7 separate regions of the Homo sapiens genome follow, and regions 2, 3, 4, 5, 6 and 7 are each linked to region 1. Evidence: promoter capture Hi-C in 16 types of primary human blood cells and fetal thymus (Javierre and others, 2016). All regions are on one chromosome and are shown on one strand. Each heading gives the region's core, a stretch centred on a gene start or on the middle of the fragment in contact. The rest is flanking DNA. Distances are from core to core; before and after follow the strand shown.

What was found. The method cuts DNA at HindIII sites, captures the fragments that hold promoters and counts their contacts. A CHiCAGO score of 5 or more calls a contact.
Region 2: a fragment that was not itself captured here is called in contact with the fragment with the promoter of SUCLG1 in region 1 in 6 of 17 cell types (non-activated CD4 T cells, naive CD8 T cells, naive B cells and 3 more); the score reaches 8.2 in non-activated CD4 T cells.
Region 3: a fragment that was not itself captured here is called in contact with the fragment with the promoter of SUCLG1 in region 1 in 14 of 17 cell types (total B cells, fetal thymus, naive CD4 T cells and 11 more); the score reaches 10.9 in total B cells.
Region 4: a contact is called between a fragment that was not itself captured here and the fragment with the promoter of SUCLG1 in region 1, in 14 of 17 cell types (M1 macrophages, M0 macrophages, fetal thymus and 11 more). The highest score is 14.3, in M1 macrophages.
Region 5: a fragment that was not itself captured here is called in contact with the fragment with the promoter of SUCLG1 in region 1 in 6 of 17 cell types (monocytes, M2 macrophages, M0 macrophages and 3 more); the score reaches 10.2 in monocytes.
Region 6: a fragment that was not itself captured here is called in contact with the fragment with the promoter of SUCLG1 in region 1 in 2 of 17 cell types (M0 macrophages and M2 macrophages); the score reaches 5.2 in M0 macrophages.
Region 7: a fragment that was not itself captured here is called in contact with the fragment with the promoter of SUCLG1 in region 1 in 3 of 17 cell types (total CD8 T cells, naive CD4 T cells and activated CD4 T cells); the score reaches 6.8 in total CD8 T cells.

Annotation. Positions count from the first base shown.
Region 1 is chr2:84,457,801-84,460,793 of GRCh38, reverse strand. It overlaps SUCLG1 (succinate-CoA ligase GDP/ADP-forming subunit alpha), which reads left to right and starts at 1,514. Exons shown (of 9, transcript NM_003849.4): 1 at 1,514-1,621. The coding sequence starts at 1,525. It also overlaps a transcript of DNAH6 not described here. RefSeq lists a silencer at 968-1,157 and an enhancer at 1,338-1,477. The HindIII fragment of the contact is 6,917 bases long and covers 1-2,181 here.
Region 2 is chr2:84,958,258-84,961,250 of GRCh38, reverse strand. No RefSeq gene overlaps it. Among named protein-coding and RNA genes, the nearest start is that of KCMF1, 11 kb to the left of the region's middle. RefSeq lists enhancers at 722-1,411, 1,412-2,101, 2,102-2,792, 2,793-2,993 and a silencer at 2,811-2,993. The HindIII fragment of the contact is 3,010 bases long and covers 1-2,993 here.
Region 3 is chr2:84,918,726-84,921,718 of GRCh38, reverse strand. No RefSeq gene overlaps it. Among named protein-coding and RNA genes, the nearest start is that of TMSB10, 15 kb to the right of the region's middle. RefSeq lists enhancers at 1,194-1,383, 1,155-2,354, 2,334-2,393 and a cis regulatory region at 1,254-1,842. The HindIII fragment of the contact is 2,952 bases long and covers 1-2,894 here.
Region 4 is chr2:84,868,556-84,871,548 of GRCh38, reverse strand. TRABD2A (TraB domain containing 2A) reads left to right here. Exons shown (of 7, transcript NM_001277053.2): 2 at 764-1,324. Among named protein-coding and RNA genes, the nearest start is that of TRABD2A, 11 kb to the left of the region's middle. The HindIII fragment of the contact is 2,652 bases long and covers 145-2,796 here.
Region 5 is chr2:84,852,196-84,855,188 of GRCh38, reverse strand. The region is part of intron 2 of TRABD2A (TraB domain containing 2A); the gene reads left to right. Among named protein-coding and RNA genes, the nearest start is that of TRABD2A, 27 kb to the left of the region's middle. The HindIII fragment of the contact is 5,384 bases long and covers 1-2,993 here.
Region 6 is chr2:84,806,338-84,809,330 of GRCh38, reverse strand. DNAH6 (dynein axonemal heavy chain 6) reads right to left here. Exons shown (of 77, transcript NM_001370.2): 72 at 789-916. Among named protein-coding and RNA genes, the nearest start is that of TRABD2A, 73 kb to the left of the region's middle. The HindIII fragment of the contact is 1,519 bases long and covers 750-2,268 here.
Region 7 is chr2:84,782,596-84,785,588 of GRCh38, reverse strand. It overlaps DNAH6 (dynein axonemal heavy chain 6), which reads right to left. Exons shown (of 77, transcript NM_001370.2): 66 at 779-867. Among named protein-coding and RNA genes, the nearest start is that of TRABD2A, 97 kb to the left of the region's middle. The HindIII fragment of the contact is 1,251 bases long and covers 975-2,225 here.

The sequences.
Region 1 (2,993 bases), core at 265-2,764:
CCTGCGTTAGTGAGACCTGGTCTGCCACAGGGGTGCAGTTATTACAAGAGGTTGAAATATCCTAAGTCCATCAAACATTGCCTGTGGATCCAAAAAATAATCTATATACTACTATTTCTCCTATATATATCAATTCAATTCAACGATGAGTTATTTGTGTAAGGCATTGTTCTAGGTGCTGGGGATACTCCAGGATACAAAACAAACAAAAATCCCCGTCTTCATGGAAATACAAATTTTCATTAAAAGTGTACTGAAATTATATTTTTTGTCATCATGCATTTTATCAATTAAATGAAACTAAACATATAACTTATCAAGCGACAGCTCAGGAATAATTTTGCTATTTAAAATAGCAAGGGATTTTCTATTTATTTGCCATAAAAATGTCCATTTTGTTATAATGGATATATCTGGAAACCACTGATACTATTTAACTCTGAGGAATTTAGTTATCACAAGAACATGATCCATGAGGGAGGAGTTTATTTGCAGTGAAGTCCAACCTGTTAATGACAATATTTGGATCATAAAGGAAGTATTGGGCAATCTCCTGGGGTAATCCCACTCATCCATCCCACAGCTCAGTGCCAATTATAATGACTACCTAAGTAAATTAGGATTGCAATTTTATTGACAATTCTGATGAGGAATCTCAGGAGCACGATTTTCGGCAGAGACGCAGATTACTTCATCTCTTGTTTACCTTTTGACTCTGGGACTCTCTGAGGTTCCTTCTAAAGCTGTTACAGAAGAGGGAACTGTTTGTCCAATCAGGGAGCAAAGTCACATTTGACCTCGAATTTCAGCCCTTAGGATCCTCAGGGAATAAACACTCATGCACTTAGTGCTAGTCAAAGACTGCATGATTATTTAACTAAAAAAATTCACATTCCAAGAAGTTAACTGTCAGTAAGATAGGTTTTGGTCTTTCTCATCACATCTTTCCCTTCACAGGCCACCAGTGCCAGTTCGAATTCCCGTCCCCAGCGGCAACCCTTCCGGGTCCAGGCACAGGTACGCGGTGAGAAATATTATTCTCTCTAATAGCAAACGAGGAAAACGAAGGGGGAAGGAGATGGGCCTGGGATACAAAGTTCTGGCACTGCTCTTCGCACCTCACCTCGCTGTTTCTTCCCTCCTAGTCTTCAAGTCCCTTGTCTCCCCGGTCTCACTGCCGCTCTTCCCTCGCTCCCTTCCCGCCGCCTCACTCAAAAGCTACGAACCAGTCGCGGCCGTCAGACTACATTGCCCACAATGCCACGCGCTGGCCAGTCTCGCGTGGGGTTTTCCCTCAGCTGCTGTTATAATTAATGTTAATCAAACCCACATTTCTAGGAAGGAGCCGAGTTATTATCTGCCTCTCCGATAGGATGCCTCTTTGTCTTCACCTGCCATTCCCGCTGTTTCGTGAAGAATCCTCTGTAAAGGGAAATTTGTTCAGGCGACTGCTGTGGCCACCCTCTGCCTCCTCCGGCCTCTGCCCCTGGGAGGTCCCCGGGGGCCTGGGAGTGTCATTGGCGTATGACCGCAACCCTTGCCGCTGCCGCTGACATCGCTACCATGGTCTCCGGCAGCAGCGGCCTCGCCGCCGCCCGTCTCCTGTCGCGCAGCTTCCTCCGTGAGTCCAGCCAGTACTGTCTTCCTGGCGCCCGCGGGTTATTGGCCCCGCCGGACCCAACCTCCTGGCCCAGGCCGCGGCTGGGCCCTCAGGGCTGGACCTCGGCGGGGGCCTGGGAGCCGCTTGGGATTCCGGCTTCGAGTCGGGGACCCCTACGGTGGAAGGAGCTTTGCTGGATACGTGGGGCGGGGGGCATGACTTAGGCCGCTGGCAGATGGAGATATTGGGTGGCTGAGCCAGGATTCGGGTCCGGGAGCCCTGCAAATTTGGGAGCTTGCTCTCGGCCCCGCGGTGACAAATGACAGGATGGGGGTGGCGTCTAGACTGGCCTTATTTGGAGTTGGGGATGAAGAGGTCCAAGGTGAACTTGGTGGGGAAGGTAAGGGTCTGGGTTGAGAGGTAGAGGAAGAGTGTCTCAGTAGGAAGTTGGGGGATGAGGCTGTCCCTAGTACGGAAAGGTCCTGCACTTCGAATTCCCCCTCTGCAGGATTGTATGTCAGGGAAAGATGGTTTCTGCACACGGAGTGGGGTCGGCATAGCCGCATAGACTACTAGAAGCTTATGGTTGGCTGGGACCTAAACCAGCTTATTTGCAGTGTCTCCACCAGGCGATTTGTGGACACATCCGTTCCCGAAAACTTAGTACCCAAGGTTGCTAGTCTTTGAGACACGCTGACTATGGAAAATTCTTGCCATATTCAAAGTCTCTGTGCTTGTCAGGTAGGTTATAGTAGAAAGAAACTTTGGAATCAGCCACATCAGGGTTTGAAGTCTGGCTAGTCCCTTTTCAGTCTGTGTAATAACCCTGGACACTTAATCTGTTTTTCAGTGTTTCCAATCACATGAAAATATTAACACATTTTAAGGGGCCTGAAGCACCATCACTTGTAAGGTGGACCATTATTTTGTTTACCACTAACAATGAAGAACGATTGCTTATTAAAACTGTGACACACCAGTGGTTGTCACATGTATCCTGGTTTTTTAAAAAGTGAAAAAAAATGTGCATTTTAGCAATGATGATGTACAGGATGATCTGGGTTCACTGCAGAATAAGTGGAGCAATTTATATAAAGCATCTCGTATGTAACAAACACTCAAAGTTAGTTTTCTTTTTCCGCTTTGCTCTTAATTCTGCTTGTACTGAATATTTTATGAGACTTAATTCCTTTCTTGAGAAGATTACATTCTGAAAGTGTACATTGATGAGTGTGCACTCAATAGCTAACACTTAGTTGCCAATCACTTGAGGACAAAGGTCTGGCTAGATAACGTTAGCAAGTATGAAATGGTTTGTTTGGTAAAGCTTTCTGGAGATTCTTGAGAGTGTTGTAGGCAGAAGGACAAAAAGAATTCATTATACCCAGTAATC
Region 2 (2,993 bases), core at 254-2,753, 500 kb before region 1:
TCAGAGAAATAAATGAGAAATTAAAAGATGGTAAGTGGAGGCCCCAGAGTGAAGGGAAGTGTTTTTGGTTTTAGGAATAGGAGAGTCTAGTGTGTTTAGAGGTTTAGGGGAAGGATCCAGGAGAGGCAGCAGAGAACTGAAGGGTGTATGTGTGTGTGGAGCAGGGAGGTGGGGGTGGTGAGGGTGGGAGATGGAGGGGAGAAGGAGCCCAGATAAATTTAGCTTCCACCAGGAGCAGGATGCCTCTTCCTCTGCTGGTGCTATAGGAAGGTTGCCAATGGGCCGGGTGCGGTGGCTCATGCCTGTAATCCTAGCACTTTGAGAGCCCAAGGTAGGTGTATCACGAGGTCAGGAGTTCAAGACCAGCCTGGCCAGTATGGTGAAACCCTGTCTCTACTAAGAAAATACAAAAATTGGCCAGTGACGGTGGCTCGCACCTGTAATCCCAGCACTTTGGGAGGCCGAGGCGCGTAGATCAGGAGGTCAGGAGGTCAGGATTTCAAGACCAGCCTGGCCAAGATGGTGAAACCCCATCTCTACTAAAAATACAAAAATTAGCTGGGCATGGTGGCTCGCGCCTGTAGTCCCATCTACTCAGGAGGCTGAGGCAGGAGAATCGCTTGAACCCGGGAGGTGGAGGTTGCAGTGAGCCGAGATCGTGCCACTGCACTCCAGCCTGAGAGACAGAGTGAGACTCTGTCAAAAAAGAAAAATTGCCAGTGGAGATAAAGGTGTCCATTTGGGTAGGTCAGGAAGCTGTGGTATTCATGCCTCATGGCCTTCATTTTCTTAGAGCGTAGGGTAAAATCATGCCATTTTTTGCCTCTGTGCCTCATAAGTTTGTACTCCTTCCTCCTTTAAAAATCAGCTGTAAGAGCTGGATGTGCTGTAAGGGCTGGACGTGGTGGCACATGCCTGTAGTTCCTACTTGGGAAGCTGAGATGGGAGGACCACTTGAGTCCGGGAGGTTGAGGCTGCAGTGAGCTATGATTGCACCACTGCTCTCCAGCCTGGGTGACAGAGCAACACCTTGTCTCTTGGGAAAAAAAAAAAAAAAAAAAATCAGCTCCAGACCCCTGCCTTTGTGAACCTTTTCTTGAAGGAAAGAGTGTGGGTTGGGGCCACTTCCAGTGGAATCACCAGGAGGGGAGTGGAGGGAGGAGGGAAGGTGCTCAGAATAAACATTCAATGTCCCTGAGCATTCCTAGATCAACCGGATCAGGATCTCTGAAGGATGGGGCTCAAAGATTGGCATTTGAAAGAACACCCGTGGGGATCCTGATGGTGCAATAAAGTTGTAGAACCACCTCACTAAGTGCTCCCAATTCCTTTTACAATTCTCTATTATTGCAATTTAATCCTTTCACTTCCCCCACTGGGCTGCCCTTGGGCAGGAGTAGGTGTCTTTGTTTACATACTTGTAGCACAGCCCTGCAGTTGGCTATCATAGTGGGCTTTGGGTGCTTATTTGTGAAATGAATGATGTGTACAAAACTGGAACCCAGATGTCCTGATTCCCAGACTCATAATTTGCTCTATCACATTTTATCTCTAGAAGCTGCTGAATTCCTCAGGAAGGCATTTCCTGGTCCAACTGTGCCTAAAACTCATATGCCAATTTAAAAAGCACAAATCCACATAGAAAGATTCTCTGAAGAAGGAGACAGTGTATGGGGGATTGGTTGCTCTAAGGAAGATTAGAAAATGAGGTCACCTGAAAGTGAAGGGAGCGGGATGCACACAAAGTAACAAGCCCCTGGAGCAGGTCTGTTCCAAGTGTGTCACCCAGGTCTCCCCCAAAAACCATCAAGGAGTTAGAAACATACTGTGGAAAAGATCCCTAGAATGTAACAGTTAAGAAGCTGGATGCTCAGGAGGTAATGAGTCATAGAATGCTTGTGTGTGGACTGCATGGAATCCAGAAAAGGGGAAGCCATAGGTTAGAAATTATAGCGTCTCAGCTGGGCACGGTGGCTCACGCCTGTAATCCTAGCTCTTTGGGAGGCTGAGGTGGGTGGATCACCTGAGGTCAGGAGTTCGAGACCAGCCTAGCCAACATGGCTTCACCGTCTCTACTGAAAATACAAAAATTAGCCAGCGTGGTGGCGGACGCCTATAATCCCAGCTATTCAGGAGACTGAGGCAGGAGAATCGCCTGAACCCGGTGGGGTGGAGGTTGCAGTGAGCCAAGATCGCGCCACTTCATTCCAGCCTGGGTGAAAAAGCAAAACTCTTGTCTCAAAAAAAAAAAAAAAAAAGAAGAAGCAATTAGAATTTATAGAGTTGTTGTAATATCCAAAGGTATAGATGCTCTGATACCACTGGGTAGTGCTGTTAATTTAGAAAGAACTGGTCCAAAAGAATGCGAATTCATCTTAGGAGAAATGGGTGTTTCCACTAAGAACAGCTCATCCCTTTTCTTTAATCATTTAGTAACTCTTTATAGATTACCTCCAATGTGTCAGGGGCTGTATTCACTGTGTCTTGCCGGAGATATGACAGTGGGCAAAACAGGTACAGGACGTACCCTTGAGAACTCACAGTATTATTCTTGTTTATTCATCAGGTTTCTAACCTGTAATTTGATATGCTTTGTGGATTTGCCTGGCACTCTGAGCAAATGACCAAAACCAATTATTCTGCCAGGTAGGCCTCTGTTCTCACGTTAATAACATTCTAGTTGTGAGTCATTTATGACTTCGATGAGAGAGTATAAAACAAACAGTTCCATTAGGGGTTGGTTTTTCCCTGGACAAATGGGTACAGAGCTGGGCCTGCTGATGAGCTCAGCAAGAAGTCCCCACCCTGGGAAGCCCTGCCAACTGCCAGCACCTTGTATTCAGCAGGCTCTCAGCCACACACAGGCTAAGTCACAGCCCCTGGCCCCATTAGGAATGTGTGTATCCTTTCCTGCCTGAATGGCCCACTGAGAGGTCGTTGGGAAAATTCTTGGAGCGTCGGATTCCTGGATGTCTTGAATTCCAAAGAGCTTG
Region 3 (2,993 bases), core at 169-2,668, 460 kb before region 1:
TTTAACAACTATTTGCATAGCCTTTACATTGATATTATAAATAATCTCGAGATGATTTAAAGTGTACTGGAGGATGTGCATAGGTTATATGCAAATACTATGCCATTTTATAGCAGGGATTTGACCATCTCTGGATTTTGCTATCTGCAGGGAGATAAGAATTCCTGTCCTACAGGATATATAACAAAATAGTGATTGTTTTAAGACGCTAAGTCTTGGAGTTATTTGATATGCAGCAATAAGCCAGAACAAAATGTGTTTAAGAATATAGTTTGGCCGCGCACGGTGGCTCATGCCTGTAATCCCAGCACTCTGGGAGGCCGAGGCGGGTGGATCACCTGAGGTCAGGAGTTTGAGACCAGCCTGACCAACGTGGTGAAACCCCGTGTCTCCTAAAAATACAAAAAATTAGCCAGGCATGGTGGCGGGCACCTGTAATCCCAGCTACCTGGGAGGCTGAGGCAGGAGAATCGCTTGAAACTAGGAGGCAGAGATTGCAGTGAGCTGAGATCATGTCATTACACTCCAGCCTGGGCGACAGAAAAAGACTCTGTCTCCAAAAAAAAAAAAAAAAAAAAAGAATATGGGCCGGGCACAGTGGCGCATGCCTGTAATCCCAGCACTTTGGGAGGCCGAGGCGGTCAGATCACGAGGTCAGGAGATCGAGACCATCCTGGCTAACATGGTGAAACCCCGTCTCTACTAAAAATACAAAAAAAAAAAAAATTAGCTGGGTGTGGTGGTGGGCGCCTGTAGTCCCAGCTACTCAGGAGGCTGAGGCAGGAGAATGGCATGAACCCGGGAGGCAGAGCTTGCAGTGAGCCGAGATCGCACCACTGCACTCCAGCCTGGGTGACAGAGCGAGACTCCGTCTCAAAAAAAAAAAAAAAAAAAGAATATGATAGTCCTAGCTACTTGGGAAGCTGAGATGGGAGGATAGCTTGAGCCCAAGAGTTCAAGGCCAGCCTGGGCAACATAACCTGGAACCCATCTCCCATAGATATGAGGGGCGACTGTATATAGATATATGAGAGGGGATTTATTAGGGGAATTGGCTCATGAGATTAGGGAGGTGAAAAGTCCCACGACAGACTGTCTGTAAGCTGGAGACCGTGGAATACCACAGTGGGGCTCAGTTCAAGTCCTAAAGTCTCAGAACCAGGGCAGCTGATAGTGTAATTCTCAGTCCAAGGCCAAAGGCCAAGAACCTGGGGGCTGCTAATGTAAGACCCAGAGTCCAAAGGCCAGGGAGCCTGCAGTTCTGATGTCCAAGGTCAGAAGAAGAAGGATGGCCCAGCTTCAGGAGAGAGAAAAAAAGAATTTGCCTTTTCTCTGCCTTTTGGTTCTATCTGGGCCCACAGCCAATTGGATGTTGTCCGCCCACACTGAGGGCAGATCTTCCTCAGTCAGCCCACCCACTCACATGCCAATCTCCTGTGAAAACACCCTCACAGACACACCTAGAAAGAATGCTTTACCAGCTCTCTAGGTTCTCGACTCCCCACTTTATTCAGTTTTGCTTTCTGTAGTTTTAGTTACTCCTGGTCAACCTTGGTCTGAAAATATTAAATTAAAAATTCCAGAAATAAACAATCCGTAAGTTTTAAATGGCTCATCGTTCTGTGTAACATGATGAAATCTCATGGCATTCCACTCTGTCCCTCCCAGGATGTGACTCATCCCTTTGTCCAGTGTTTCCACGTTGTATACACTACTCACCCGTTAGCTAGTCTCTTAGCAGCCATCTCAGTTACGAGTGACTGTCACAGCATCACAGTGCTTGTGTTCAACTGTTTAATTGTTCTATTTTATTATTAGTTGTTAATCTCTTACTGTGCCTAATTTATAAATTAAACGTTATCATAGGTGTGTACAGGGTTCGGTACATGTGTGGCTTCAGGCATCCACTGGGGATCTTGGAACATACCCTCCATGGATAAGGGGAGACTAGTGTATTACTTAATCAAGTCAAGTTGACAGCTAAAATTAACCATCACAGGAAGCATATGTCCTTTTCTAACTACTGAAACAAATTTTGAGGTATTGAAGTTATTGCTTTCTTGCAGCTTTGAAAGCAATCGTCTGTGAAACCATCTGGGCCTGGCACTCTTCTAAGTGGTAACAATGTGTGGGTGTGCACGCGTGCGCATGTGTGTATGTGTGTATGTGTCAGAGAGAGAGAGAGAGACATTATTCGGTGCATAGATTTATGGCTGATTTAAAAATATTGGACTGTCTGGCCAGGCATGGTGGCCCACGCCTGTAATCTCAGCACTTTGGGAGGCCAAGGCGGATGGATTACCTGAGGTCAGGAGTTTGAGACCAGGCTGGCCAACATGGTGAAACCCCATCTCTACTAAAAATACAAAAATTAGCCGGGCATAGTGGCGCAGTACCTGTAGTCCCAGCTACTCCGGAGGCTGATGCAGGAGAATTACTTGAACCTGGGAGGCGGAGGTTGCAGTGAGTCGAGATGGCACCACTGCACTCCAGCCTGGGTGACAGAGTGAGACTCTGTCTCAGGAAACAAAAACACGACCAGGCGTGGTGGCTCACGCTTGTAATCCCAGCACCTTGGGAGGCTGAGGCAGGCGGATCACCTCAGGTCAGGAGTTCAAGACCAGCCTGGCCAACATGGTGAAACCCCATCTCTACAAAAATACAGAAATTAGCTGGGCATGATGGCAGGTGCCTGTAATCCCAGCTACTTTGGAATCTGAGGTGGGAGAATCGCTTGAACCCAGGAGGGGGAGGTTGCAGTGAGCTGAGATGGTACCATTGCACTCTAATCTGGGTGACAGAGAGACTCCGTCTCAAAACAAAAACAAAACAAAACAAAAAAAGAAAACAAAAACAAACAAAAACCCAGTGACTTATATATCATAATAGAAGCTTATTCATCTTCCTGATAAAGATTAAAGATGTCTGGAAGGAGTAGTCCACGCCTGGTATAGCAACTCTGAGATCCCAGTCACCTTAATGCTTTCTGCTGC
Region 4 (2,993 bases), core at 221-2,720, 410 kb before region 1:
GATTGCGCCATTGCACTCCAGCCTGGGCAACAGAGTGAGACTCCTTCTCAAAAAAAAAAAAAAGTAGCATTTCTGAGTTCCACCTCCAGAGATTCTGATGTGATTGGTCTGGGGTGGGACCCAGGCATTGGACTTTCAAAAGCTTTGGGGGTGATTCCAGTGCATAGCTAGAGTTGAAGCCTCTGCCTTTGGGGATGTTGGTTTTGAGATCTGAAAGAGCAGGGATCATCAGGTCTGCCTGGGAGACAGTGGGCTTCTCAGGTGTCTCTTAGATGGTATCAGGTATATCCTTGGAGGCCCCTGAGACTCACTTCTTTAACTCTTGCCCAGTTCATTGCTAGGGCAGGCATGGCACAATCTCAAAACTGGTGACTGCTATTGCTTTCTCATCTTGGAATCAACATTTTGATTGAAAAGGGGGTCCCATCCCCTTTTGATTGAAAAGCTGAGTCTCATCCCAGACCAATCAGATCAGAATGTCTGGAGGTAGGACTCAGAGATGCTTCTTTTAAAGCTCCGCTGGTGATCCCAACATACAGCCAAGGTTGAAACTAGAGTCCTAATGAGCCCCTGATTTCATAATTTGCTCCTGTCTATTTAGGGCAATGGATTGTCCTGGCAGGTGAATCTACACGGACTCAAAAGTCTAAATTCTACTTTGATATCTTTTCTCTTGAAATGTGACTGATTCATTTCCTCTCACAGGTTCCTGACCATGCCTCTCCCCCATATTATACCTTGATGTTACCTCTTTTCTTTTCAGCAAAGCGAGCTGAATTCCTTCTTGTGGACCATTAAGCGAGACCCACCATCTTACTTCTTTGGCACAATCCATGTCCCGTACACCCGAGTTTGGGACTTCATCCCCGACAACTCTAAGGAGGCTTTCCTGCAGAGCAGCATTGTGTACTTTGAGTTGGATCTCACAGACCCCTATACCATCTCAGCTCTCACCAGCTGTCAGATGCTGCCACAGGGCGAGAACCTCCAAGATGTGCTCCCCAGGGACATCTACTGCCGCCTCAAGCGCCACCTGGAGTATGTCAAGCTCATGATGCCCTTGTGGATGACCCCAGACCAGCGCGGCAAGGGGCTCTACGCAGACTACCTCTTCAATGCTATTGCCGGAAACTGGGAGCGCAAGAGGCCTGTCTGGGTGATGCTCATGGTCAACTCCCTGACTGAAGTGGACATTAAGTCCCGTGGAGTGCCTGTCTTAGACCTGTTCCTTGCCCAGGAGGCTGAGCGGCTGAGGAAACAGACTGGGGCAGTGGAAAAGGTGGAAGAGCAGTGCCATCCATTGAATGGGTTGAACTTTTCACAGGTAAGACTCTCTTTGCATAAAAGACTTAGTGGCATTTGGTTGTATGGGTGAATCTGTTGAGTTTCAGGGCAGGTGATGGATCACGGGCACAGCTTGTCTAGAAATTGTCTTTGCTTAAAAATGCTTTTCCGGGGGTTAAAAAAAAAGCCAAGTGGTCAGTTATATCACTTATTTGAGTATTGCCAAGAAAAAAAACTTGTTTTTTTCTTATCATTCCAACAAATACTGTGTACTTTTTTTTTTTTTTTTTTGGGACAGAGTCATTCCACCCAGGCTGGAGTGCAGTGGTGCGATCTCAGTTCACTGCAACCTCTGCCCTCTGGGTTCAAGCATTTCTCCTGTCTCAGCCTCCCTAGTAGCTGGGATTACAGGTGTGTGCTACCACGCCCGACTACTTTTTGTATTTTTAGTAGAGACGAGGTTTTGCCATGTTGCCAGGCTGGTCTCGAACTCCTGACCTCAAGTGATCTGCCTGCCTCGGCCTCCCAAAGTGCTGGGATTACAGGTGTGAGCCACTGTGCCTGGCCCATACTGTGTGCTTTTAAAATGCATCTTAGTTCAGATCCTTCATTAAAAAGCTGCTTTGAGACGTTGTGGACATGTGGATGCCACACTGGTTGTCACAGGGCATGGCCTGGTTTGAAAATATACTGGCCATTGCTACTTTAGGAGACAGCAGTCTCTTTGAGGTCACTACTGTCCCTCTTTAGGACACTGCCCCAGGACAGTTCCTTTCCTAGGCAGAGTTATGCTCTTCTTACCCCTGGTTTAAGGATCCTACCCCAGGGCATTGGAATTTAATTTGATGTTCAAGAAGTTGGTTCTTCAATTCTCATAAGTAATACTTGATTAAAGTGCCATGGTTTAGTTGTTTCCATAAAAGTTGTTTAAAGTGCATTAGACACTTCTGGAGACCAATGGGAGTCTTGCAATATGAAATAAAGTGTTCTTGTTTTGTAAATGTTCTCATTGGGTCACGTTGAGGTTTTGTTCCTCAGAATTTGAGATTACTGTTAATCCAAATAGCTCAGCCTTAGCAGATCTTGACATACTGAACTAAGGTTGTTATTTAAAAGGTGTAAGGACATGTAACAATCTAAAAATAATGTTCCTGAGTTGATAATGATATCTTTAGGGAATTTATCTTGCTAAAATTCTATAATATTAATAAGTAATCCGATGCTATTCTATATGCTATAGTATTTGTTTGGCACACTAAGATTTATAGATAAGATAAGGGATCATTAATTGTCTGCATTGATCTCCTGGGAAAGATTTTCTTGCATTATTATGGAAACCCAAAGAGCCAATGTTATAACCTTTTCAATGTCTGCATTTAATATAATATTTTGAAAAAGAAAGGTGCTTTGATTTGAAGGCTTATTGATTTTGACGGAATGAATTTGAAATTGGTGAGCATTTTAACCTGAGCCAAAGCCTTCTTTCATACTCCCAATTGGGGAAAAAAAGCTTGGAAGTAAAATATTAGCTCAAGCAAGGTATCTTTGAAGGAAGGTGTGCAACACTGTCTCTTTTTTCCTTTCTTTCTTTTTTTCTTATACTTTAAGTTCTAGGGTACATGTGCACAACGTGCAGGTTTGTTACATATATATACATGCGCCATATTGGTGTGCTGCACCCATTAGTTAATTAGTTAATGTTAATTAGT
Region 5 (2,993 bases), core at 191-2,690, 390 kb before region 1:
GGCCTATAAAGATGAGCATTTTCTGCTTGTGGACGATTTTAAAGTCCATTCTGTGGGGTAGATGTACTCTTTGAATGTAAAGCTGATGATTCAGCCAGTGCCATATCATCGAGTCAGGTGTCCACTCAGGTGTAACTGGCATGGCTTGGGGAGGGAGGGGGCACGTGGAATCATGTCCTACATAGGGCTGTCCCTTCAGAGGCTGTGGTTTGGGTAGGGGTTGGTAGAGGAAGGGCACAGTGATTTGACACCTTTGGTACACCCAGTAGGAGAGAAAGGTCTGTAATCCAAGGATGGTTTTGTGGAGCTTTTCCCCAGAGGTGGACCTGACACCATGATCTCTGGGGGGGCAAGGGGCATTAGTTAACAGGACAGGAAGGGTGAATTTGAGGCTGTCTGTGCATCTTACCTGGTGGTGCTGTCATAACCAGGACAGGGCATTCAGGAGAAGTAGGTGTATTGCCTCTCCTTGCCTTAGAGTTGCATGGGTCTGGGCAGTCAGGCAGGTCTTGCCTGAGGAGAGGTTGGCTTTAGAGGCCTGGGAGGCACCAAGGCCAGTCTTCCTGCCTATTGCCCTGTTATTCTGTGCAGTTTCTCAGTGGAGAGTATCAACTTTGGAGACCGTGGATCTGGGTTTGAATCCTGGCTCCCCCATTTCCTAGTATTGTGACCTTGGGTGAGATATTGAACCTTTCTGAGTCTGTTTTCTTATTTCTAAAAGGGGTATGATGAAACAAACATTGTCAGTTTGTAGTAAAGAATAAATAGAGAACCTTTGTAAAGTGCCCAGTGCATAATGTTTTGGTAAGTTTGCTGTTGCTTTTGCTCCATCCACTGTAAGTGGTTGGGCTTACTCGTATCTAGCCTGTACAGTTGTCCCTCAGTATCCATGGGGGATTGGTTCCAAGACCCACTTGGATACCAAAATTCAAAGATGCTCAAGTTCCTGCTATAAAATGGCAAGTTGCATTTGGATATAACCTACGCACACCCTCCCAAATACTTTGTCATCTCTGCGTTACTTACAATACATAATACAATGTAAATGCAATGTAAATAGTTGTTATACTGTATTTTTGTTTTTAAAAATTGTATTATTTTTATTTTTTCAAATATAAATAATATATATTTATATATAATATATGAAATATAAATAAATAAATATTTTTTGAGATGGAGTCTCGCTCTGTGCCCAGGCAGGAGTGCAGTGGGGCGATCTCTGCTCACTGCAACCTCTGCCTCCCAGGTTCAAGTGATTCTTCTGCCTCAGCCTCCCAAGAAGCTGGGACCACAGGTGTGCGCCACCATGCCTAGCTAATTTTTGTATTTTTAGTACAGATGGAGTTTCACCATATTGGCCAGGCTGGTCTCGAAATCCTGACCTTGTGTGCCTTGGCCTCCCAAAGTGCTGGGATTATAGGCGTAAGCCACTGCACCCATCAAGGCTGGAAATCTTAAATTGAGGTATTGGCCAGTCAGTGTTCTCTCTGAAGGACCTAGAGGAGAATCCCCCCTTCCAGCTTCTGGTGGTTGACACCTATCCTTGGTGTTTCTTGTCTTGTAGGAGCCTCACTCCAGTCTCTGCCTGATATGGTTTGGCTGTGTCCCCACCCAAATCTTACACTGAACTGTAGTTTCCATAATCCCCATGTGTCATGGGCGGGACCAGGTGGGAGGTAATTGAATCATGGGGGTGGTTACCTCCATGCTGTTCTCCTGATAGTGAGTTCTCATGAGATCTGATAGTTTCATAAGGGGCTTTTCCCCCTTTTGCTCAGCACTTCTCCTTCCTGCTGCCATGTGACGAAGGACATGTTTGCTTCCTCTTCTGCCATGGTTGTAAGTTTCCTGAGGCCTCCTCAGCCCTTCAAAACCGTGAGTCAATTAAACCTTCCTCCTTTATAAATTACCCAGTCTTGGGTATGTCTTTATTAGCAGCGTGAGAACGGACTAACACACTGCCTTTGGCATCACATGGTGTTCTCGGTGGGTGTTTCTGCATGGTCTTCCCCCTGTGGGTGCCTGTCTTTCTGTATCTAAATTTCCCTTTCTTATAAGGACGCAGTCATATTGGATTAGAACCCACCCTAATGATCTTAACTTAAATATATCTGCAAGAGCTTGTTTCCAAATAAGTTCACATTCATAGGTCCTGGGGGTTAGGATGAACATATCTTTTGGGTGGGGGGAAAAATTTAACCCACAACACCCTCTTTTGCCCTCTCTAGTGGTTCCACAGCTGGTTAAGGAGATGATTTTCAGATTGACCTGTCTTCTGTGTCCTGCAGTGACCTTTACCCTCCTGGGCTAATGGAAACTTCTCCCATTGGGAGATCTATTCTTCTTTTTCCTTATTTCCTTCTGGTCTTGCCATTGGCCCAGGAGGCTCTGGCTTCCATCTAATTCACTCAGGGAGCTGTCACTCTGCACAATGGAGATAAAGGTCTCATCACTGGGCCTTTGGCTGCTCCTACATTGGGCATATGGGTCATCTTTGCAGTTGTCACATTCCTGCTGCCCTCTGGGGAAAGCCTGGTGGCTCTTGCTGAGGTGCTGGAAGCACCTCCAGGTACAAGCTGCAACACCCTCCTCCACCCTGCCAACAGCCCCTGAGGACATATTGGCCCTGCTGCTGATAGCCAAGCTAGCAACTCCTGCCACCTCATGGTCATTCTGGCCACCCCTCCCCCCAGCCCATGGTCATTTTGGCCATCCTCCCTCAACTCTGCGGTCATTCTGGCAACCCCTTCCCCAATCCCATGGTCATGCTGGCATTCCTCCCGTAACCCCATGGTCATTCTGGCAACCATCCCCCACCGCATGGTCATGCTGGTTGTGCTTCTTCCTGGACCCTTGGTGGCTACTCCTGTCCTTGCTGCATTGGTCTGTCCTGGGTCTGCAGACTTGGTTGCTGCTACACTAAGAGAGCCTGCTGCAGTGCCTGTGTCTACCTGTGCTGCCACCCCTGTTGTCCTTTGCCAGGCTTCACAGGT
Region 6 (2,993 bases), core at 260-2,759, 350 kb before region 1:
TCTCCCAGTTCTCCCCCAATCTTATCCCCAAGTCTTGACCTTGAAGTAGGTGTTTGGTTCCCTGCTTAGCAGTAACACTTTTCCTGTCAATGCTCAATATTTTCTAATAGTTATTCTTTTTCTCTTATCAAAGTTATGCACAGAGAAACTAGGAAGGCCTTTGACCATCATTACAAATGCAAGGCAATGCAGAGAGAAAGTATCTATGAACATAAAGCAGAAGATCAAACAGGTGTTTGCAAATTTTAGTGACATTAAAATTATCTGGGGAGTTTATTTAAAATTCATATTCCCAGGCCCTGCTTCAAGAAATTCTAACTCAGTAGGTCTTGAGTGGGATCAAGTAATCCACATGTTGAACACACCACAGGGGACTCTAATGCAGGCATTCTGTGGCCCACACTTTGACAGATTATGGTTTTCACAGTCTCGCTTAAAGACTATGTTATGAAATGCAAACTAGACATTAGGAACAAACACTGAATTACTCTTAATTGAGTGCTTAGGTCTCTGAACAATTTCTAGTGAGTCAATAGAATCTAAGGGTGTAAGGATAAGGAGGAGACTGAGAATTTGTAATGTTACATATTCACTCCATCATTATTAGAAAATGGGAATACAGATTCATTAGAGAAGGATAAATTCATTTTTAGACTCATTGGGCTTGAAGAGTTGTTAGTGTATCCAAATGGAAATGCTGAAGTGATGGGAATGGAAGAATTTCATATTATACAACTCTCTACAAAGCTTTGATGCTCAATAGCAATGATGAAAGTAAGCTCTCATACATGAATTAACTTCAGCAGGTTGTTAAACCGGTCCACTTCCTGTCCAAGAACGGTGGTCAAGGAGTTCAGACGTCCTTGAAGATCCTTGACAAAAAGGCTCTCAGAAGCACCCTCCATTTCCAGTTTTTCTGAAACATACACAGCGATTCCTCAGGCCAGTCACCATTGATTTGTTCTCACAATATTGCTAAGGCAATGTGCTTATCTTAACATTTTTAAAAAGCCAGCTTCTCTCATTGTTTAAGCCAGATACATAGGATTTAAATGTGATGTTTCTATAATTTAGAATGCTTTTGTGATTCAACTGTGTTTATATAGAAGCAATCACAGAAAATTATGTTTAAATTCATGTGTATCAGTGTATCAGGGCATACACACACACACACACACACACACACACACACACACACATATATATACACTTTTTTTTCTCAAACATTAAACCATTGCATTTTGTTTCTTCCCTTAAAGCATGTTCCCCATGGGTATTTTCATCTTCCCAGCCAGTGTGAGCTATGTGATCTATGGCCCTGGGACAGGAGAGGTAGGTCCTTGTTGCTTAAGTGAGATCATAGAAAGACTGGCTGTGCTAATGTAGAAGGAGGACTGGAAAAAGGAAGGAGAAGCCTGCTTATTTTCATTCTGGTTGACTGTGGGGAGGAGGTGAGGGGTTGAGAGGGAAGAGGATGTAATGGAAGGTCAGCATGGCTCAGTGGTATCTGCAAGTTTGATGAGGGGTTTGAAAGGTCTCCAATGTGGAATGAGGGGGTTGGCAGGAGGGCATAGGAAGGTGTGCCTGGCTTTGGCTGATTGGGAGGCAGAGCCCTGAAGGCTTCAGTGGTAAATGCTAGCAGGATGAAGCGGTTGCCTGGCAGACAAGGAACATTCCAGAGACTAGACGGCCCAGGGACCCTAAGTCTCCCCCTCTACCATACAAGCGTTTAAATCTCCCACTTCCCTGCTCACCTGCACTGCATAGGAAAGGTTGGGGGCAGGAGACTGAGACAGGAGAGAGACTTAGTGTTTATCGCATGTTACTGGGCATTATTTAAAGGGACTGACTGCATTATTAAACAGGCCCATAGTTCAAACTGGATGGAAAATGTAGCTCTTCTTTCTCCCTACAATCCACCAAATGCAGGCTCAGATGAAGAACGATATGAGCTACGAAAGAGGAAGGAACAGCCTTTTTCTTGCGTATTTGAGAAAAGTATGTGTAAACAAATGGCTATGACATACATGTATCAAATTCCTTCTTGACCACACACATTTGGCTGCTGGACAAAAATCCCACAGCAGTGCCAATGAGTCTAATCTCTTGGGTCCGCTGTGCTGTGGTTACATGTCCCTGGTCTTCTCTTTCCACCATTCCTCTCAGGGCTATTTCAAACCCTCAGTTCTTTTGCTGAGCCAATTGTTTTCCTGCCCCTTCAGTCTCAGCAGATGATCTGCTTAGCATTTCACAGTAAAAGTACAAGCTTTATGAAGCCTGGAGAGAAAACCCTCCTAGGTGTCAGTGGGATTCTACCAAACAAGTGCATGGTCTCTGCAGCTATCCATTCATCTCTCCATCCTTTTCCCAACCAGCACTCTATCTTATATTTATTGATCTTATATTTAATGACTCTGTTTGCTTCAACAACAGAATTCTCTACCCAAGTAGACATTCTCTTGAGGGCCTGCTTCTAGGAGGCAGATAACTGACTTCTGAAACCACAAGGCTCCTTTTCTTCCAGGGGCTTTAAGGGCATTAGCAGGACTCAGTTGCTGTTTTTTCTGCCTCAATTTTCTTTTTCCTATAATGACATCTCTTCCAACCATGAATAATGAAGACATCTAAATCTCCTATCGATCTAAGAAAAGTGTTAAAATAGATCTCTTGTGATCATTCAGGAAGACCTTTTTTTTTTTTTTTTTTTTTTTTGAGACTGAGTCTTGCTCTGTCACCCAGGCTGGAGTGCAGTGGTGTGATCTCGGCTCACTGCGAGCTCCGCCTCCCGGGTTCACACCATTCTCCTGCCTCAGCCTCCAGAGTAGCTGGGACTACAGGCGACCGCCACCACGCCCGGCTAATTTTTTGTATTTTTAGTAGAGATGGGGTTTCACCGTGTTAGCCAGGATAGTCTTGATCTCCTGACCTTGTGATCCGCCTGCCTTGGCCTCCCAAAGTGCTAGGATTACAGGCATCAGCCACTGTGCCCGGCC
Region 7 (2,993 bases), core at 351-2,850, 320 kb before region 1:
GTGGCAGAGAGAGTGATTTTATAGATTTGCATTATTTCTGAATAACACACATAGACTGAAGCCATTGAAATGATGTAGATTGCTGATGTTCATGGGGAGGTGGGGACCATTCCTGGCATGTTCGAGCCTGCTTTGTATCTTGCTCAGGCACAGTCCAGGGAGAATAGGGAATGGCAGGTTTCTCAGACCTACAGTGGTTGAACCACATGACAAGAACCTCAGACACTTCCATTTAGTGTCCATTTTTTCTAAACACAGGTCAGAAAGCATGCTCAGGGTTTCCTCATTGAATTTTGCATCATCCCTACATAGGGCATTGTTCCATAGTTTGTCCCCTGATGTCCCATGACGTGGGACAGGGAGGGAAGAAGCAACTCTTGTTCCTCATATGCAGAGGCTTGCCACAGATCATAAACTTCCAGCATTGAAATCCAGCAGCCATACTAGTATGGCTTGTAGGCCTTCCTGTCTCTCAAATACTGAAACATTCCCTTAACACTAGAAGGGGTTCTCTTCTTATCACTCTGTACCCTTAACATTTTCTTGTGAGGGTGACGGCTGGGAGAGCTGAATGACCCATAGGACTAGAATATGCAAGGATGGGGTTGGGAAATCGTTTCTCTGCTTGTTATAGGTGAAAAGATACTGACTTCACCTCCCCATGCTGGCCACACAGACCTCCACATGCTTCTGTGCAGGCTCTGATCTCCTGGGAGGCACTAGGTGAATATTCTGAAACCAACCATTTCACATTGTTCCAACCATATGCATACATTACCTTGACAGAATTTTGAAGAACTGTAACAGGAAATGTATTACTAGGCATGGAGCTTAAAAAAAGTCGAAAAGTGTCCTTGATAGCACTATCTGCTTAAAACAAAGATAAAACAACAAAAAAGGAAAATGTTTAGTTGGTAGTAGCACTTTTCTATAAGACATGATTATTTCTAGAGAAGGAAAAAATGCTATAAGCTTTGTTTAAAGATCTAGTTAATCTATTACAAGTATAGTGTAAACTGTTTCAAAATGGGAGTAAGATGCATTGTTTTAGAAACTTCACGTTAGGAAGGTTTGGCAGTCTAGAAGCAGGCACATTTGGGTAAATAAATTAGGAACACGATAATTTTTAATACTTGCTGAACTATTAAGGGCCTTATCTTTGAAATAGGAAACATTTTCAGTTGAAAAAGAGGGCAGTTATTGCCCATGTATTTATTTTCATGAGGATTTTTTGACCCTTCAATTTAACACAAGTTGCATGAAAATGGCCAAAAACCCCTACTGAGAAAATTCTCCCCTCAGCAGAAAAGTTGCAAAGGAAACAAGGGAGCCAGGATATGGAGAGACCTCATGTGTGGCATTAGCACGTTAAGTCAATGCACTTACTTTCTGAGATATGGACAGAGGACCCAAGAAAGAATGAGCTCCACTGTAGGTTCAAAAGGCCAAAGTAAAGTTGGAAAAATCATTGTTCCCATCACAGGAAGACACAGGCATCATTCAAGGACAAATTCCTTGGCATTGGTTTTTAAGTACGTATTATGCTGTTTCTCAAACATGCTAGGCTGGCTCCCTCACTAGGGCCTTTGCACTGGCTGTTCCCTCAGATTCCCTCACTTTCTTCATGTCTTGGTCAAATATCACCTTCTGAAAGAGGACTACTCAGATTAAACCACTTAAAATTGCTATCTTCCTTGCTCCCTACTCACATCCCATCTCAATCTTTCTGGTCCTCCTTACCTTACTCTCCTTTTTATTTTTTCCAAAGCACAACCATGTTCTAACACAACGTATACGTTACTTATTTACCATGTGGTTTATTCATTGTCTGTCTCCCCCCAACTAGAATGGAAACTCTACGAGGACAAATATCTATGGTTCTTTTGTTTATCAACATATCCTAGAACAATACATGGTACACTAGGCCCTTAATTATTTATGGAATGAATGACAACAAGTCAAAGCTGATTTCATGCTTCTTGGTTTGGTAATCTAAATTCACAAGCCACATTAAATAGCCCAAATTAAAAGTTAGTTCTACCAAATTCTAGAGCAATACTAACACTGTTTGCATAGTAAAAACTATTAGGCAAAGAAGTCAAACAACAACCAAAGTCTTAGGGCCAATGATTTCAGTAACCAAAAAACCAAAGAAAGAAGAAGGCCAGGTTTGGAGAAGGATTTTTTCCATACTTTTGTTCTTATAATTGCAAAAGCACCAAGCTTCTTAACTTTCATAGACATCATAGAATTTTAGGGCTGGACTAGAAGAGCATCTTAGAAATCATCTTAGTACAGGACTTTTCATGATGATGTCATGTAGTCATTTTATAGCTGGGGAAACTGGCCCAGAAAAAAGATATGACATGCACAGTCAGGAAGTGGTGGGGCAGAACTCTGTGGAGGTGTTAGGATTTCAAGTTCTGAGGTTTTATTTGTTTTGTTTTTTTTCTTTTTCTTCCTTTTGTATTTTCAGCTTATTACCTGAATGTATTTTATTTCCTACTGGTTCAAGTTAAACATCAGAACTTAAATGGTTAGGTGATAAATGATTATAGCAAGGGCCATAAGAGGATTTTTTCTATCCACTTAAGTTTAGTAAGCACTTAAAATACACAAACAACTTCAGCTGGCTTCATTAGCCGATCCAGTCTCCTTGAAGAACTGGCAAATGTTCTTGTCCTAGTTACAGTGAAACTGAATGGCATCTCCATATTCTGGAGCCTCATGTAGTACCACCACAGTAAATTGCTTTTTTGCTGCCTCTCTAGCATTTTTTTCTTAATTATATTCCTAATCACTGGGGACCCCTGACCAGTACTGAAGACCTCCTTGTCATTTCTCTTTAATTATTTAAGTAGAAATAAGCCACAGGCCCAGCAGGAAGCAGGCCCTCTCTTATTTGACAGCAAAAGAGTGGAAATAGTGGAGATTCTGAATGGTGGATAAAAATGAGTCCTTACCTTTGTCAGAAGCAGCCTGCAGAAGGCTTG